2 separate regions of the Homo sapiens genome follow, and region 2 is linked to region 1. Evidence: promoter capture Hi-C in 16 types of primary human blood cells and fetal thymus (Javierre and others, 2016). All regions are on one chromosome and are shown on one strand. Each heading gives the region's core, a stretch centred on a gene start or on the middle of the fragment in contact. The rest is flanking DNA. Distances are from core to core; before and after follow the strand shown.

Region 1 (3,792 bases), core at 1,143-3,642:
ATATTATATTATACTTATTACTGATAAGTATATATACTTATTACTAAGTATATAAACTTATTACTGATACGTATATATACTTATTGCTGATAAGTATATATACTTATTGCTGATAAGTATATATACAGTATTGAGCTTAATGTGGTCCTGAGACCCAGCCTTATAAAAGCAAATGTCTGATGCCTGTGTAATGGCACTGAAGAAAAGAAAGGTTGAATTTACTAGGTGTGTGCTCCTTTATAAGACCCATTCTAGGTCTCTTTCTGAATCCCCTTCCTCCCATCATCACAAAGAGGTTGACATTTTCCATATCTCTATCCCATTCCCCCACATGACTGGCTTCTCTCCCTTTCCTGGAATGCCTCCTGGATGGAGGATTAACTTATATAATAGATGTTTATAAAATGTTTCTGAAATGTTTAAAATGTATATAAAATGTGAATATTAGAAATTTTTTAAATTTTGATTATCTTGACATATCTCTTAGCCCCACAGGAAGAGGCTAGCAGCTTACTCTGGCCGCTACAGGGTTTTTAGCAGTGAAGCTGCAGTCCCACAGAGTTGTCCAGCTGAGAAACCCCTTTAAGACCAGTCAAGTCAACCTCCTCACTGTACAGATGGGCTAGGAACAATGAGGTCCAGGGAGAGGGAAGGTATTATTTGCAGCTCAGCATAACCTGAGCCTGAGGTCTATAGTATAAGATCCTGTGTACAAATGGAAGGCCTGCTTCCAGGTCTGGAAAAGCTCATAGGCTGGGGAAGGAACAAGACACATGAGTGCTCTCTCTCTCTCTCACACACACACACACACACACACACATGAATGCACACACACATACACACACACAAACAAAGGATTTAAATTTAACATTTCTAAAATGCTCCCTCAAGCCCCAGGCTTAAGCCCTAGCTCAAACCAACAGACTTGGAGAAGGTAGAGAGATACATTATAAAACCTGCTAGAGAATGGAAATGTGGTAGTTATAGAAAGAAAAATGTTTTTTCAGGAGCATTAACTCTGCCACTAATGCTCTTTGGCTTGGGGGCAAATTATTTTTTCTCTTGGTTGACTTAATTCAGAGTCTTTTCTAACTCTGAGGTTCCAGAGTGTGATGGGTCACAGAGCCCCAGGATAGGGTAACCTAATCAGAGTCAGCTACGGAAAGCTGGATTCTTTCTGACCTAACAAGTGACACCAAGCTAACACCTATCCAGCCTTTTTCTCTAGGGATGATAGGGAAGCAGCAAAATCCCCCTTTACCCTATATTGGATCTCACTTAGCTGTTACCCAGGTTGAGTTTCCTGAAAATCCATCTCACTTCTCAGGAGTGTAGATGAGGATAGAGCTTCCCAAGCTCCAAGGAAATAATGCCACTATGGAATAGTCCATCCTCCTTTGGGATTTGTATCCAGCCCATAAATAGCCCAGACAAATTGAGCCATGTCTATAGGGAAGTGAGTTATCCCAGGAATGGGTAAGAAACCAAGTCCTATGAAGACCAGTTGAAAAAGCTGGGGCTGTTCAGCTTGGAGGAGAGAAGAGTCAAGGAGACATAGTACTTGTCCTCAGGGCTTTGAAGGGCTATCACAGGGCAAGGAAGCATCTATGTTCTGTGTAGCCCCAAGAAGCAAAGCTGGGGTTTTTGGATGGAAGTCAGAGGGAACTGGATTTAGTTCAACACAAATAAGAACTTTCTAACAGTTGGAGCTGCTCCTGGATGGACTAGATGGTCTGGGGAGGTAGTGAACAGTGAAATCTCAATCACTACTGGATGTTTCTGAGCACTTATTCATGACAATGAAGGGTGGTATAGGTTACTTCTATAGTCCTATCCAACTCTTAGAAAACACTCCTTCTTCGGGGGCTGTATATTTTAACAGAGACCAAAGCTTGGAAGCAGAGTGGTTAAGTCCAATTGTAGAATTTTAGATGAGAGACAGCAGATGGAGGAAAGATTCGGATGTCATTGGGAACCTTCTTGATGCCCCTGAGATACAAGCCCTAGAAAATAATGCAGATGTTTTCCAAGAGAAAAATCCTTTTTCAATTTCTGCCCAAACTTGCCTTCTGGCTTCTTCAGCAGCCTTCAACTACATCCATCCGTTTTGCTCAAGGCTGAGAGAGCCTGCAGAGTTTGGCTGAGAAGACTCACCTGCCCAGTAGGAATAGGCTTTCCATAGTAGACATTAAACACCAACCCTCTAGCCTTTTGCCTAAGCCAGCAATGGCAGCCAGGCCCCCCTTTCTGCCTTACCATAAGTGTCCACTGTTAGGTGCCCCAGGAGTAGCAGGCCCAGTAAGATCCCCATCACAGCCAGAGCTACTTCTGTCCTTTCTTCCAGCCTCCTGCTACCAAAGAGGCTCAAACTTCTGGTGGCCGCCAGCGTCTGTGACTGCTTACTTCCCTTCCTTCCCTATATCTCTCACTCAAACTCCTAGTCCCATCACACATTCCCCTTCCTTCCCTATTTCAGTACAGGTCATGTGGGGTGCCCCCCTTCCCCCACCTCCTTGGGGTTGGAGGTTCCAGGATGAGTGAAGCAATTCTTCCCCCTGCTAGGGTATTGACTTGACTTTCCTTGGAGCCAATGGGGCTTTCTGGTCTTTGATCTCCTAGGCTGTATTTATTTTGAGTCTCCTCCACAAGATTCAGAGGTTGTGGGGGCGACCTTTGGGATGAGTCTTCCCACTCCAGTATGGCGGTGTTTTCCTTTGTGGTGAGCCCAGGGAGAAGAGATCAACTTTGCTGACCTACCCAATTTTCATTAGTTGTACTGTTAACCCTTGCCTGTGCAGCCTATGCAACTGGACAGGGTGTTGGGCCCGGGGTGCTTTTGGGCTTAAGAGTACAAGAGTTTAGTGTATTAAAGGGCTTTCTACACATCAAAGCTTGAATAATTGACAAGCCAATGGATAAGGCTGTTATGGGTGAATATGCCTCATATCTCATATTGGGGAAGCTCTTTGAATCACTTTCTACAATGGCTCCACCTCTCTGATGGTAAGGGAGAATTCATTTTCATTAATGTTCTCCATGCTTTTTCATAAGGAATTTATTTTTTACTTCTTTTAAGGGAAATTTAAGCCTAGCCTCCAGTGCAGCAGCCCATTAGTGGTATGCTGTATTAGGTTGAATTTTTCATTGACTTCCAATTGGTACAGGCCCTTGACCTACAAGAGAGTAATATTATGCCTCCTAGCAAAGCTCAACTGCTCCAGAAATTGCTCCTCTTCACAGGCCCCAGAGTGACTGTAATTTCATCAGCAGTCTAACTAGGTTTGGCACTGCGCTTTGTCTACTAAGCTTTGAAACAATAAGCACTTTCAAAAGCACAAATACATCCCAAAAATTCATACTGCACTGTAAGTAACAGCTAAGCTTAGTTTACTCTTTGATTGGAGGGATAGGAAAGGACTTGGTCAGGGGAGGGAGGAGTTTGTGCAGAGATGGGGAGTGGGAATATAAAGAAACATACTTGCCAAGGGGTGGCTGCATGCAGATGATTTGGAGCTGTGCACGGGCTAAGGAGACATTCCAGCATTTCAGGACACATTATTACATGGAATTCTATCAATCACCTCTGCCTCTAGGGCCCAATCCCCCTTGGCTGGTTGTTCCTTGTTTTTTGAGTACTGCACTCATTCCATCTCACTGGAAATTTCAGCCATTTTTTCCCACCGGGTCCTCACTCAGGAAACCCTGAACTTCACAGAACCCTCCTTTGATATTTTTCAACCAACACCCTATCACCACTACACCACCACCACCGCACAGACACACACACACACA
Region 2 (3,833 bases), core at 1,177-3,676, 2.3 Mb before region 1:
AAGTTAGGGTGAAAAAAATTGTTTTTTCAGGACCGGCAGAGCTTCTGGCACTAAAGCTAGGCAGTAAAATGGCACAGTTAATCTTAAGGAGATGGGACTGACTAGAAAGGAATTTGAAACCAGGAGTTTTCTAATAAATAATCTCATAGCTGGACGAGGCTAGGCTCTACATGTCTGCTGTGGACATGTTTCCGAGGCATTTGCAGGAAATTGGGATTCTGTTCTTTCTTTGTTCCCTCCCCAAAAGCATCTCTCCAAGTCCCACTAGGCTCTAGTCCCCTTTTTCTAGAGTTATTGGTGCCTGGGCCTTTAAAGGGTGGGCTCTGGAGCTCAGTGGGTGCTCAGTGATACAGGGGTTGCTAGGATACCAGTAGAGGGCATTTTCTTTAATTCTTTGATGGGGATCCAGGAGCGAAAATCCCTAAGCTGGGATTTTGCCCCTCCTACATGGCAAAAGCTTATCCTCTACTCAAAGGGGCCAGAGAGGAGGGAAGGGAATGGAGGAGCTTTATTGGGAAAAGTTGGGACAAATCAGAGAGGAAAAGTCCTCTTCTCTTTTTTACTTCTCACCCATTTACAGTGGGGAGGTGGGAGGAGGAGGTGGTGTCAGGGGTGGGAAGAAAGGAAGAAGGAGAAAGATTAAGAGAGAAGGCAGAGGAGGAAGGAAAAAAGAAGACAAGTCAAAATGCATAGGGTTCCGCTTCTCTGGGCTGCATTTCTCATTTTCTCCCACTCTTTTCTCTTTTTGCTAGAGAAAAATATCCTCACAAGTCTGAAGCAGAAATGCCAAACCTTTAGGATTCACACAAGTAAAAAGTCACACTGCTACCTTTTGTTCTCTACTCTCAAATTCCCTTCTGGTTGCTAGATGGTGGCCTGCCATCTGGCTAGCAACATCCCTTTATTTGCCTGGAGACAATTTTAAAAGCGCTAACCCATTTCAACAGCTAAATTACTAATGGAAGGGCTCATTCAAGACACCTCCTTAGCCTGAGGGGTTTTAGGTGGTGAAAAGAGGAATGGCATGGGTGATACCCATCCATCCCAGCATTTGTGAAATCCTTATAGGTCCTAGCACAAGGAGGCTATTCAGAACTGTGGAACTCAATACTGTCTTTCTTCATTCCTACCACCACACCCCGCATCCACACTCAGGAGTGTGCTCCCCCCCACACACCCCCATGAACATACTGCCACACACCCTACACACACACATACATTCCCAGAGGCTTTCTGCCAAAGGTCTGTCAGGCTCACAGAGGAGAAGGCATTTCGTGACACTATTTAAGTCATAAACCTAGATCAAAGACTAGTCTCAGAGACCCCTTCTCCCCTTGGGGGAAAAAAAGTCAAAAAGCATTCCCTTATTGCTGTCCCAGTTTCCTTCCCAAATAACTAGGCAAAAAAAACCCCTTCGCTTAAACTTGTTATCCAGGCTGTAGTACCAGATATCCTTCCCCTCCTCCCATCACCCTTTGATTAACATTTTCTTTTCCTTTTCACTTGTCTTTCCAGCTCATCCCCCCCACCCCCCACAACTTCAAGTGTCTAGGGGTCATAAAATCATAAAATGCAAGAACTTGGAAGTCACCTAGTGGAGCCATCAAAAAATGCCAATGTTACTGGGAATCCCAAACCCACCGAGGAGGAAAAAAATTGTCCAAGGTCAAACAGCTGCTGAATGGAAAAAACAAAAAACAAAACAAAACAAAACAAAAAAACAGGTCTGCAGCTGCCCAGCATAGAGCCATTCCCCACTCTCCAACACTGTATCAAAACAAAGTGCCCAGAAAAGATATAAGCTTACTTTAAATAATACAATGAAGCTAAGGGGGGAAAAAAACTCACTAAATTATCTTTGCAAAGAAATAGGTTCTCAGTTCCATCCAGGGGGTCTCCACAAACGGACCAAAGAGTAATTAATAAGAACCAATGCCAGCAAACCTCCCAGATCATGTTTACACCATGGTACTAATCTCACAAAAACCTCAGCTTCTCACCCACACCAAGTCAAGGATAGCATGCTTTGAGGCCCAAAACACCCTCTGACGCCATTAAATAATACTCTCTGGGTCCTGTGGCCAAGACAATTTCAAAGGCCCCCTTCACAGCCCCTCTCCTTTCATAATCATTTCCAAAGAGACTGAACAACCGGACATGGAACTTGACAGCATAATGCCAGCAGATTTGCACATCAGACATGAACAGCCACCCACATGGGTGGAGGGGGAGCATGTGTGTAGATGTGTATGTGTCCTGATTCACTGCTATAATACATGAGCCATAAATGGCATTATTTCAAGCCAGGTAAGCAATGGAATGGGGAAAGCCTGCCTACATTAACAGGGGAGAAAGAAAATCAAAACGCAAAAAAACAAGTATTATACAGACTGGCATGAGACATTTTTTTTCCTGGCTCTGCCAAGAGCTTTCTCAGAGGAAACAGAAATATAAAAATAATAGCAATAGCAATAACAACAGAAACCACCACCACCATCTGATACAGACAAGCAGTCATATCTCAAACTGGAATGTTGCTTCCAGCTCATGTTTTCCATGCTCTCATCCCTTTCCTTCTAGACGTTTTTGGGTTTTGGTGGTCAAATTTAGCACCAAAATTTGATAACTCTTAATTTAGCACATTACAGACTTTCAGTTTGTTATGGGAATGTTTCAATTACAGAGACCTCTGATCTTAAAGTAACAAACGGGAGCAAACAATAGCATCACCACTTTCTCATCAGCCTTATCAAGTTACATTTAAAATGTAGTTCAAGAACATCATTGCAAACGAGATTATCCCAAAGGAGCCATATCCAAATACTATTATTCCCAAGGTGGATAAAGAGCTGTTTTTTCTTTCTTGTGGGGTTTTTTTTTTTTTTTGATGAGACAAACAAAATCCCCAAACTCAAATCCAGGGGTACAATCTTTGGGAAAGGGAGCCCAAATAGCTCCTGTCAAAGTCCTCTCTTGCCAGTTCAAAAAATCAGAGAATGCTTTCACATACTATTTCATGATTCCAAGGAAATTGACATTTTAAATATCTTAAAGCTTTAAGGTTCAAGAAGTGTTTTAAATGTGGCTTCTTTCAAAATTGAAAATTGTGAACCCTGGAGAGCAAATTGAGATTCAAAGGACACAGTCACCAACTGCCAGCACAACACACCCGTGTCACTTCCCAAATTCTTGCTTCTCCTTAGACACTAAAGAAGCATTTTCCCTAAATCCATTCCTTGCATCGATTATTTTCCCTCTAAATATCCACTGCAAAGACTGTCTTTCCTATGATGTCAAATATTCATCATGCTCTTCCACAAACCCTTTTCCCCTCAAACAAACCCAAATGCACTCCTGATGGCAAGAGAGAAATTTTGACTAAAATTCCCTGATGGAGTTTAAAGGTAGTCTTCAAGGAAATGAGTTAAGACACCACAGACAGCAAAGCCACTGTTTAAGGACGCAGAGCTTGCTCCATGAACGCCACATAGATTAAAAATGCACACACGCATGCACACTTAAATAGAAAGCATTTCTTCATCAACAATTTCACTCAAGCAATAGGCAACTATACGCGCAGGCATTCTTAAAAGACAAGACACGACAAAAGATTTAGGGAGAGATAATATACCAACGTCATACATATCACAGCGAGGCCATGTTGAAGCTCAAAACGTTTTCCCCCCTGAGTAAGAAAGCTTGTTCTTTCTCTCTCTTTCCCTGTCTCTGTCTGTGATTTTTTTTTTTTCTCGGTGGCTCTCGGGATGAAATCAAAGCGAGAGTTCGCGACAGCTCAGGTGGCTGGACTCCATTCAGCGCGTTCCCAGGAAAAA

Evidence for each region. The method cuts DNA at HindIII sites, captures the fragments that hold promoters and counts their contacts. A CHiCAGO score of 5 or more calls a contact.
Region 2: a fragment that was not itself captured here is called in contact with the fragment with the promoter of VSIG4 in region 1 in 1 of 17 cell types (M0 macrophages); the score reaches 5.7 in M0 macrophages.

Annotation. Positions count from the first base shown.
Region 1 is chrX:66,037,688-66,041,479 of GRCh38, forward strand. It overlaps VSIG4 (V-set and immunoglobulin domain containing 4), which reads right to left and starts at 2,393. Exons shown (of 8, transcript NM_007268.3): 1 at 2,257-2,393. The coding sequence starts at 2,311. The HindIII fragment of the contact is 1,000 bases long and covers 1,890-2,889 here.
Region 2 is chrX:63,750,673-63,754,505 of GRCh38, forward strand. The region is part of intron 1 of ARHGEF9 (Cdc42 guanine nucleotide exchange factor 9); the gene reads right to left. It overlaps LOC128031833, which reads right to left. Exons shown (of 1, transcript NM_001414729.1): 1 at 3,813-3,833. The coding sequence ends at 3,813. Among named protein-coding and RNA genes, the nearest start is that of ARHGEF9, 33 kb to the right of the region's middle. The HindIII fragment of the contact is 1,252 bases long and covers 1,801-3,052 here.